Linked DNA regions of Homo sapiens: all the other regions are linked to region 2. Evidence: promoter capture Hi-C in 16 types of primary human blood cells and fetal thymus (Javierre and others, 2016). All regions are on one chromosome and are shown on one strand. Each heading gives the region's core, a stretch centred on a gene start or on the middle of the fragment in contact. The rest is flanking DNA. Distances are from core to core; before and after follow the strand shown. Region 1 has its middle 13 kb from the start of C11orf71. Region 2 holds the start of USP28 (ubiquitin specific peptidase 28). Region 3 overlaps REXO2 (RNA exonuclease 2).

Region 1 (3,746 bases), core at 221-2,720, 510 kb before region 2:
AACTGGAGAAGGTGGCATTCTTTAGTTTAACGTGTGTTTATTTACATCTATAAAATACCTAGATATAAAACCTTATTTAAAATGTGCAGATCATGTTTTTGTTTTTTCGTTGTTTAATTCTGGGAAGCCCTTTTTTCAATGCTTGTTTTAAATCATTTTAAAATATATTTGTAAAACTAAGTTATGTGTGTGAGCCTGTATATAATATGATTTGGGAGGTCATCATTCTGATCATTGTGCAAAATATACATGTGTAAAATCATATATGAGGTCTTAGGATGATGTCACTAAATCCTCTTTATATGTGGCTACTAAAAATAGACCCTAGCCAGGCACAGGCTCACGCTCATAATCTCAGGGGTTTGGGAGGCTGAAGCAGGAGGATCGCTTGAGGCCAGGACTTTGAGACCAGCCTAGGCAACCTAGTGAGATCCTGTATCTACAAAAAATAAAAAATTAGTATGTGGTGGTGTGTACCTGTAGTCCCAGCTACTCAGGAGGCTGAGGCAGGAGGTTTGCTTGAGCCTAGGAGTTCAAGGTTACAGTGAGCTATGATCCCACCCCTGCACTCTAGCCTGGGCAACAGAGTGAGACCCTGGCTATAAAAAAAAAAACAAAAATTAACTGCATCTTATATTAAGTTCCATTTCATAATTGGCTCTAATAGGAGGGCACCTTATAAACTTACTCTGAAAGTACTGTCTAAGGCTATTGTGGGTAAACAGTTGTAGTATATTTATGCCATGAAGTACTACTCAGCAATAAAAAGGAATTATTTACTGATATACACACAACATCAATAAATCTCAAGAGCATGCTGAGTGAAAGCAGCCAGACACAAAAGACTATATACATATGATTCTACGTAGATGAAACTCTAGAAAAGATAAATCTAATGTATATTGGTAAAAGCTTATTGGGGCTTGCTTGAGGATGATAATTGATTGGGAAGAGAGGACACAGAAATTGTTTGGAAGGTGATGAAAATATTCTATGTTTGATTGTAATGATTATTACATGGGTATATATAACAGTCAAAACTTATCAAGCCGTACATTTTGAATGGATGGATTTATTGTATATAAATTATTTACTTATTTACTTAGAGATGTGGTCTCGCTCTATTGCCCAGGCTGTAGTGCAGTGGTGTGATCATAGCTCATTGTAACCTCAAACTCCCGGGCTCAAGTGATCCTTCCACCTCAACCTCCTGAGTAGCTGGGGTTACAGGTGTGAGCCACCACACCTGGCTCTGTATATAAATTATATATTTCAATAAAATTGGAAAATAAACAAAAATATTTTATTGCAAAAAGGGTAGTCTACATGGTATTTATAAAGAGACAATCTTATAAGCAAGTATTTGCCAGGGTTTCTCCTGTAGGGAAGTGTGTGCCCCAATGTGAGAACACTAACATCTCATGCCTGGCCAGATAAAACTGCCAAGTGAAACCCATCGGTTGTTGTTGTTGTTGTTGTTGTTGTTGTTTTGCCCTTGCTCCAAGCTGTAAAAGCAAACATCGATCTAGCATGTCTTCAGGGAGAGAGTGTACTCAGTTCATCTGAGCATTCCAAGCCCCAAGGTGTCTTAGTCCATTTTCTGCTGCTATAACAGAATGCCACAGACTGAGTAATTTGTAAAGAATATACATTTATTTGGTTAACAGTTATGGAGGCTGGGAAATCCAAGAGCATGATGCCAACATCTGGTGAAGGCCTTCATGCTGTGCAATGTGTTATCCCATGGCAGAAGAGCAAGGAAGGGCTGAGACAAAGAAAAACGTGCCAAACTCCTACAGAGCCCTTATGACCTAATCACTTCTTAAAGGTCCTACTTCCTAATATTATCACATTTGCAATTAAATTTCAACTTCAGTTTTGGAGGGGACATTCAAACCATAGCACATGGTTATTGGCATTCTGCTTTATGTACCAACTTCTTGTCAGTTTGGTTAGTATGAGACAGTTCCAAAGAACCTCATCATATTTGGAGGCCCTTACAAAGAGCTCCTTAACATCTGAAGCTTGAGGATCAGCTCCTCGAGCACAGTGTCTATATTAATGCACTTCTGTTTCTAGAAAGTCCTTTCTCGACCATCCTCCAGTTCAACATCTCTTAGGTCATACTTCCTTTACATCCTCTGCACTTCACAGATACAATAATACCTCAATTCCATTTCATTTTTCAACTTATTAACAAGCCTATATGGCCAAAGTGAAGACTTGGCAATCATAGGTCAACAATGTAAGTATTTTCCAATAAAATCCCAACTTTCTTGCTGTTAACTGGGTAAATGGACACAGTGAGGTCTTTGTTGCTGGGTTATCTGGGTGTAGCTGGCCTCTGACAATATTTTACATATAAATTAATATTTATAGGCTACTTCATTTCAGGCAAAGCAAAAGATGTTGCCACGCCACAGGAAATTTCAAGATTTTTGTGGGGGAATTCTGGCAAACTTGCCAAATGATGACATTCCAGCAGTTTTGGAAACAATCTAATATGTTGGTGTGGAAATACTGCATATAAATTCTTTAATTATCTCTCATTTTGGCTAAATTTTAGCTTTGTGGTGTGAGAGCAGATCTTCATTTCCACTGCTGCCATAATATTTGATGGCAGTTCCACTTGGCTCCTTTCTAGGCCTGAGTTCAGAGCAATATGGCAGTTTTGTGATGTGGACACAGTTTCTATGCTAAAGCCATCCATTTTAATAAAGTAAAGGTCTAGCCCATTGAGCCCAGTTGAATACAGCTGTTGCATTGATCTCTTCTGATGCTACAGCCATTGAGTTCATTTCCTTAATCACGTTTTCCATACGGGTAAAAGCATGAAGCTGCTTAGTATCTTCCAGAGTGCATGCATTCTAATTTCAGAATTTAATCAAATGGAACTGGCTTCCTGACAGAGTAAACAGAGCAAAATACTGTATCCAGACCAGCTGCCAAGCTAGCAGCCTGAATTTATTTTTCCTTGCTTTGTTAAATGCATCTTGAATTTTTGAAAACATAGTCCAGGTTTAGGAAATTTAACATTTTTGAATCAAGATCAGTCACCTCTAATATCCCTCCATAAATACATCCATTAAATTTCAAAAGTCAGGTAGCTGAGTTAATCCTTTCTCACCTGACTGTGACAGAGAAGAAAACACATTCCTTTTTTTCTATTGAACATTGAACGCAGGAATTGTGAACATAGACACTTGCCATTTGGGCTAATCAAATGGCAGAGTAACTTTAAATATCTATCGTTTTTTCCTGATTGCTAGCTCTGTAGTTCTTATTTGACTCTTAGAATCTAACTCATCTCTGAAATCTTTCCAGGTATTCTCGATGCCACTTTTTAATACATCATTCAATATATAAATATTACAGTTTTATTTATAATATAGGTTCTATGTAGCAACCAGGACACATAAAGAGAAATGAAAGAGGCAGCTGAGTGAAAATACCTATTTCTCCAACCACTTGGCTTATGAAAGAGGGCTTGAGGAGGTATAGAACATTGTTACCAATTACTTTGTTATTGCTAATTCTAATTTTTCTATCTGCAAAAATAAATTTTTTGCTGCATATATATTCTTTATTAAGCACAAATATTTATGCTTATTTTTATGTAGTAATTTCATTTATCCTTTTAACACAATATCAAGGATAGCCTTTGGAGGAGGTACATGATGGACTGAGAACTTTATCATTTAGCTAGGGGATTCTTAGAAATGCACATAGCCTCAAATCAAATCAAA
Region 2 (3,806 bases), core at 1,195-3,694:
GAGGGACCTGGTGGGACATGATTAGATTATGGGGTGGATTTCCCCCATGCATTTCTCATGATAGTGAGTTCTTATGAGATCTTTGTGTGTGTGTGTGTGCGGGGGGTCGGGGGGGACACTTCTTTTGTTCTATCTCTCCTACTCTGCCATGGTGAGACATGCCTGCTTCCCCTTTGCCTTCCACCACGATTGTACGTTTCCTGAGGCCTCCCAGTCTTGCTTCCTGTTATGCCCCTGAGTCAAACCTCTTTTCTTCATAACTTACCCAGGCTCAGGTAATTCTTTATGGCAGTGTGAGAACAGACTAATACAAAGGATTATAGGTTTTGACAGCACTTACACACAATAAACATGCAATTTCCTAAAATGAATGTGTAAAGACAAATAAGGGTTGCTCCAGAGACATGGTAAATAAAGCATTCTAGCAGTGTAGAAATAGGCAATGCTGTAAATAAGCTAGACTCAGAAATCAATGTGGGCTGGGCGTGGTGACTCATGTCTGTAATCCCCAAATTTTGGGAGGCCAAGGCAGGAGGATTGCTTGAGACCAGAAGTTTGAGACCATCCTGGGCAACACAGTGAGATCCCATCTCCATAAAAAAGACACAAAAATTAGTTGGGCATGGCACATGCATGAAGTCCCTGCTGCTTCAGAGGCTGAGGCAGTTGGACTGCTTGAGCCCAGGAATTCAAGGCTGCAGTGAGCCATGATCTCACTACTGTATTTCAGTCTGGGTGACAGAGTGAGACCCTGTCTCAAAAAAAAAAAAAAAAAAAAAGAAAACCAGCATCAACCTGAAATCAACCTGTTCTACAGTGACACCCAGGTTGAGGCCATAAACACAGTCACTCATGAGGAAAGGAAAAATGGCAGAGCCACATACATAAAATGTCCTACTACTCGCAGACACAAACACAGTCAGCCTGTTGAATGTGGAAGATTCCAAGTTAGTATCACCGCAGCCATGCCAATCTGCCAGTTAATCTGCCAGGGGAAGCGGATCCCTGTATCTCCAGGTGGTGGAAGTTGCAGGAGTCCTAGTTCAGGCCTCAGAGAGTAATCTGGCCTCTCCTGGGAGCTGCACCTGACCTGTACCTGTTTCCTTTTGTCAAAAACTGCGCCCGCATGCAGACTAGGGAGGCCTGCAGGTGAAACATAACAATCCCAGCGACAACAATGCCAGGAGTATAGGAAAGGCCACCGTCCATGTTAAATTCACACTTAAAAGTGTAGCTTGAGAGTCAGACCAGACCAGGGCAAGGGTGTAGGTGCTACTCTTAAAAGACGCGCTTCCACACTCAGCCTCTACGCAGATTTGGGACACCCAGCAGCCTGTCAAGTGGGTTTGCCATCATAACACATTTGTATCTTAAATGTGAAACATGGTTCAGTAATCACAATTCCCACACAGTTGTTGAAAATACAATTCAGGCCTGGCGCGGTGGCTCACGCCTATAATCCCAGCATTATGGAAGGCCGAGACGGGCGGATCACCTGAGGTCAGGAATTCGAGGCCAGCCTGGGCAACATGGTGAAACCCTGGGTGTGGTACAGCGTGCCTGTAATCCCAGCTACTCAGGAGAATCGCTTGAACCCAGGAGGCGGAAGTTGCAGTGAGCCGAGACCGTGCGGCTGCACTCCAGCTTGAGGGGACAGAGTGAGACTCCGTCTCAAAAAAAAAGAAAAAAAAAAAAACAAACCGAAACCAACCAAACAAAAAACAATTCAATAGGAGCACCTGGTCTTTTAACATGAAATCGTAAATATCTGGCTCAAACGTAACAAAGTAACACAAAATTTTAGTTTGAACTTCTGAAAATCGAAAATGGAAAAACTGCAATTTTCCTTATCATGCCCAGGTTAAGAGCATCAGGGTTAAGGGCACCAAGCGGGACACCCATGAACGGAGGCTTTGGTCCGTTTGGTTAGCTTTAGACAAGCGACTGCATTCATCCTCCTTCTCTCCTTAAAGATGGTGAACACTTCTTCATGTCATTGGAGTTGGAAATGGCTACAAAGCCTGATGGGAAATCCTTTATTCCACGGTCATTCGGCAGTTTCCCACGGCGGGGGAACAGTTTTAACTCGCCCGTGGGGAGGGTGGAGCCGGAGGTCAGTCCTACAAATGAGGTTTTGAGGGCAGAGAGCGGAGAAGACTCAGGAACGCGGCTCCCAGGATTCGCAAACCCAGTTCCCGGACACTGGCAGCGCGGCCCGCAGCCTCCACCGGCTGTGAAGCTGACCAACAGCGACAGGCGGGGCCGGGATCACGTGACCGACGTCTGGTCAGCCGGGCGTGCGCGGGAGCACGCAGAACTGTTCGGCCCCGGGCCGCGCGCCTTGCGTGCGCGCGCATGCCGGGGGCGGGGCATGTGGGCCAAGCCTCCGGCGCGCGCTGCGGGCGGGGGCGGGACGGAGCGGGGTGGAGGGCGGGGGCGGGGCCTAGTCCTGAGAGGCTGGGCCGGCGGCGGCTGCGGCGGGAGACCGGTGACCCGCGGCTGGGCGCCTCGGCCATGACTGCGGAGCTGCAGCAGGACGACGCGGCCGGCGCGGCAGACGGCCACGGCTCGGTGGGCTCCGCGGCGGCGAGCGGGAGCTGGGGGCGGGCTCCAGGCCCTGAGGGGAGCGTGCGGGGCCTGCAGGGCTGCGGGTTGCGGGCTGCGGAGGGCGCCCCGGCCGGGCGGGACAGGGGGTGCGCCCGCCAGCGTGGGTGAGAAGGCCAAGGGCTCTGCGGGGCTCGGGCCGCGGAGATTGAGGACTGCATCTTCGCGTCCGTGGGCGAGCTGAAGTTGTAGGGGGATTTCCAGATTTTGGAAAACCAAATATAAAGGGCTGGACGTGGGGTTCTCCGCCGCAGGGATCAGTAAGGTGAGCCCTCCTGGGCCCCGTCCGGGGTGAGAAACTTCCGAAAGCGGCAGCGTTGGTTGGTTTTGTTTTGCTTTGACTTTTAAATCAGTTTTATGGCGGCGTTTTTAAAAGGTTAAAGCAGACCGAAGTTATCTCACTTAAAGTCCGGAATTAATCACCGTCTTCTATAAGACCAGGGGTCCCAGTTACCACCACTTCCCTCCCTCCCAACCCGGCTTTAAAAACAAAACAGCGCAGCCTCCCCAATTATTGCCTTCATCGCTCTAGATTTTTAAGGAGGGGGAGGAGCTGCGTGATGAATAGAAAGTCTACTGATGATGATCTCCTGTTCCCAATGTCTAAGAAGATTGAAATCAATATAAGGACTTCTGATCTAAGAATCTGGTGAGAGTGAAAGAACCCTGGTTTGAGAGAAAAGCTAATGTCTGTATGAAGAAACTTGGGAAGAGGGCAATTTGAGCATGTCTTCTAGTGTTACTTCGGAATGTTATAACTTAACACCACCTCCTCACCCCTCAAGTACTGCACTTTTTCAAGAGAAAACGGGAAATCTGTGCCAGTTGTTCAAATACGAGTTTGGAGATGAGAAACTATATTTGTCGTACAAAGCTGGCAGACAGATACCCTCAGGTGAGAATCCTTTTATACCTTTTTACTCTTTTGTCTGGAAGGCCAGTAGTATTTAGCATGGAGACACTTTTTTTTTTTTTTTTTTTTTTTTTTCGACAGAGTCTCCCTCTGTTGCCTAGGCTGGAGTGCTGTGGCGCGATGTCGGCTCACTGCATCCTCCGCCTCACCCTCCTGAGTAGCTGGTATTACAGGTGCTTGCCACCGGCCCGGCTAATTTTTGTATTTTTAGTAGAGTCGGGGTTTCACCATATTGGTCAGGCTGGTCTCAAACTCCCGACTTAAGGTGATTCGCCCGCCTCGGCCTTCC
Region 3 (3,714 bases), core at 95-2,594, 570 kb before region 2:
TTAAGAGACTAAAGAAATATAACTAAATGAAATGCACGAGCCTTGACTGAATCCTGGTTCAAAAACAAATATTTTGGGGAACATCTAATGTGGACTAGATATCATATGATACTGAATAATGTTTAATTATCTTCAATGCAATGACATTGTATTACATAAGAAAATGTCTTTATCTTAGGAGATGTTTGATGAAGTATTTAGGAATGAAGTGTCCTGATGCCTGCAATTTCCTTTAAAATGTCCAACAAAAAATAGGTAAAACAAATACGACACAAGGTTAACAATTACTAAATCCACTCCTCTGTGCATGTGAAATTTTTCCATCATAAAAATATGGGAGAAATTCTTATTGAGTAAGTTTGTGTTTCCCAGATCTCATGTCAGGTTTCAGGGCATTTTCCCAATACTCATGCTATAAACTACACAGAGAAACTTGAACAGAAAAGTTAAGATGTGTAACCCAAAGCAGGGTTAAGTGGAAGACATGGATGGGCTCGGCTAGTCTTTCTGGAACTGCAGTCTCTTGAACCACTACATATGGAAGACTATAAGATATACACAGGATTGGATTTTACCTGCAAGTGGACAGAGCCCTGGAGGAGTCTGCTGTCGTACAAAGGACAGAAATTCATACTCTGCCTGCTGCAATGTAATTGTACTCTCCTTCACTGCCTTGGTAAGGCCAGACTGCAAGAGAGAATCCCCAGCCCCCCACCAAAAACACATGTAAAGTCAGTTTTCAAAGGCATCCAGAAATGAAATTTCACTTTTAAAATGGGCAAATATAACCACAAATAGACCATTTTTAGAGCTCAAGTTCAAATTGCAACTGCCATCTTTGCACCATTTTTTTTTCTTCAAGAATCCAAGCCAACTTAGTTATGATCCTGACTGTTAATAGCATGTCCACAGTCAAAAAAGACGGTGTTCAAAGTCCAAGGATATTAACCTCTGGGAAGAAACAACTATTAACAGGAGAGCAGCAATCCCCCTTCTCTGAAAGTTGATGTCTAACCTTATCCAAAAGACTGACTTGAGTAATACTTGACAATCCACAATGCGTTCGCGACAGACTGAATGTAGGAGAGAAAAAAAAGAGGACATTCAGGAGAAGATGATCTCGAGAGGTCCCAAAGATGAAAAGTAAACAAGCAAGCAGTTTCCCAGGCTTGCCATGCAATCTTCTCTAAGCCTTTTTAAAATACCATCCAACAATGGTATCGGATTCAGGTGTGGGAGCAAAAAGCTTGCTACTGATCCCCAAAGCAGCAATCCTGTTATTTGGTAATGTTACCTTCCCGTGATGCTCCTTACACCAATCTGACATGCTGTCCAGCAACTCATCTGGTTGTTTTATAATCAGGTTAGGACCCTGTGGATGGGAAACGCCATCAGTCACCAAGAAACAACAGGAATAACCTTACTTTCAGAGGGAAAGCTTAAGCTGTTTTAAGGACTAAATATACATATCAGAGAAAGTAAGAGATAAGGATACTTTAAGTGTTCCCCCTTCATTCCAGCACTGTTCATTAAGGCAAAATAGAACATACGAACATACACACACCACTGAAAACTCTAATCCTACAAATAGATGACACAGATATCTATCAAGGGTCAGCAAACTATGGCCCCACACTTCAGCTATTTATTAATAGCTAGAAAGCTAAGAATGATTTTTACATTTGTAAAAGATTGTTTAAAAAAAAAAAAGAACATATGACAAGAACATATGACTGCACTCAAAGCCTAAACAATTTAATAACTTGCTCTTTCCAGAAAAGTCTGTCAACCCTTGATTATGAGTTCATTTTGAAAAGTGTCTAGGCCAAGCATGGTAATCCCAGCACTCTGGGAGGCCGAGGTGGGAGGATCACTTGAGGCCAGTAGTTCAAGACCAGTCCAGGCAACATAGCAAGACCTCATTTCTACAAAATTAAAAAAAAAAAAAAAAAAATTAGGTGGGCCTGGTGGCACACCCCTACAGTCCTAGCTTCTCAGGAGGCTGAGGCAGGAAGATCACTTGAACCCAGGAGTTCGAGGTTACAGTGAGCTACATGCCACTGCACTCCAACCTGGGTGACAGGGTGAGACCCTATCTCTTAAAAAAAAAAAGTATCTATATTGCAGGTGAAAAAAACAATTGCAAAACCATGTATGTATAGGTATGATTTCATTTACACTTGTTTTAAAAAAAACACGCATTTATATAAACATACAAAATATCAAGACAATACATAAACTTGGAGTAAGAAGGAGCAATAGAACAGGACAAAAATCCAATAGTTCACTACACACATACTTTGGATAGTTACACTGTTTTAACAGTATTTTTATATTTAAAAAAAAATTAAAGAGGTAATTGTTGATATCCAAAACACAAAGTAGCCCTCAAATTCTCAGCTCCATTTCATAGAACATCCAAGTATGAGTCTCTCAGATAAGTCCTGGCAGTTAACAGTAGCTACGGCATTAAAGCAAGTCACCTCAGCTTCTCCCTCTGTAAGATAGTGATAATAATAAACTGTACCCCTTCCCTCATAGAAATGTTAACAGGATAAAAGAAATTATAGATATGAGCTCTTTGAACTCTCTGATAGAAAAGTATTCCATAAATCCAAGGTATTATTACTACTAAGGTGGTAAAAACAGTTCACAATCACTGAAAGAAATGGCTAGAATTTAATTAAAATACGCCTGACATCCTACTACTAAAAAGGAGATTTAGCCAAACAAGAAAACTGGTGTTGGTAATCTCTGCGAAGAAACAAAAAATTTTGCTTGGATAACAGATGTTTTATGATAGTCACGAAGGAAAAAGAAAACCCAAACCTATGAAAATGAAAAAAAATACTCATACTATTAAAAAAAATACTAACAATGATGGAAAAATCAAACTACTACAAACTATTTTAGATCCCTATTTAGCAAGCCAAGGGACCACACCTACAGAAAAATTTTCAGAGTAGGATGCCTGCTCTTCTACCAGCATAAAACATTTTTCTCAGACTCTTATAAAAGAATAAAACATACTGCAGAACTGATAGCCCCTAAGCTTTTTTTTTTTTTTTAACATCTTTATCCTCATCTGACTTAGTCCATTTACAAATGCTGCATTCATCTGCAGCTGTGTGAATACATACCCAAATTTCCTCCAGGGTACATATCAACCTACGGGTCCATTAAACTGTCAGTATTTCACATTATATCAACAGTCTAAAGGAAACACTCTTCTTCGGCCAAGGGTAAGTTAGACTGGTAAAATAAAGACACTTCTCTTCACTATTGATCTCCAATAAATCCCAAGTAACAGAAAAAAACAACCAAATCTAAAACTCAGGGCTTTATTTATACAAAGTTAAAAAAGTTGTTATGATGAGAAGTACAAAGTCTCATGATTCTCCTACAGTTGATATGTGGGGAGGATAAGCCTGGTACTCCACAAACGCAGTCATTAATCTAGAAATACGTCCTCACCTCTTTTACCTACACAGCAAAACAAACAAAAGTGTTAACTGCAGATTTACGAAATGTATCCAGTGCCAGTAACATATCAATGCTACCCTCTAGGAACTTATTTTAACAAGACTCTCTTTTCCACAAACATCCCTACTTTGTTCCTATTCTGGAGTTTCTGGCTCTGAATACTGCTGACAGTATAAAACAGAATTATTCAGGGTCAGGGATTTCACCCCCTACCAGATGGTGTCACATCCT

What was found. Contacts are between HindIII fragments. The CHiCAGO score rates a contact against its expected background, and 5 or more counts as called.
Region 1: a fragment that was not itself captured here is called in contact with the fragment with the promoter of USP28 in region 2 in 4 of 17 cell types (total CD8 T cells, naive CD8 T cells, non-activated CD4 T cells and 1 more); the score reaches 6.2 in total CD8 T cells.
Region 3: a fragment that was not itself captured here is called in contact with the fragment with the promoter of USP28 in region 2 in 8 of 17 cell types (total CD8 T cells, activated CD4 T cells, total B cells and 5 more); the score reaches 8.0 in total CD8 T cells.

The regions. Positions count from the first base shown.
Region 1 is chr11:114,385,462-114,389,207 of GRCh38, reverse strand. No RefSeq gene overlaps it. Among named protein-coding and RNA genes, the nearest start is that of C11orf71, 13 kb to the left of the region's middle. The HindIII fragment of the contact is 1,112 bases long and covers 915-2,026 here.
Region 2 is chr11:113,874,210-113,878,015 of GRCh38, reverse strand. It overlaps USP28 (ubiquitin specific peptidase 28), which reads left to right and starts at 2,444. Exons shown (of 26, transcript NM_001346252.4): 1 at 2,444-2,571. The coding sequence starts at 2,515. RefSeq lists enhancers at 1,224-1,885, 1,936-2,185, 2,175-2,469 and silencers at 2,206-2,365, 2,386-2,745. The HindIII fragment of the contact is 13,869 bases long and covers 1-3,806 here.
Region 3 is chr11:114,441,514-114,445,227 of GRCh38, reverse strand. It overlaps REXO2 (RNA exonuclease 2), which reads right to left. Exons shown (of 7, transcript NM_015523.4): 3 at 1,295-1,372; 4 at 576-687. Among named protein-coding and RNA genes, the nearest start is that of REXO2, 3.9 kb to the right of the region's middle. The HindIII fragment of the contact is 192 bases long and covers 1,249-1,440 here.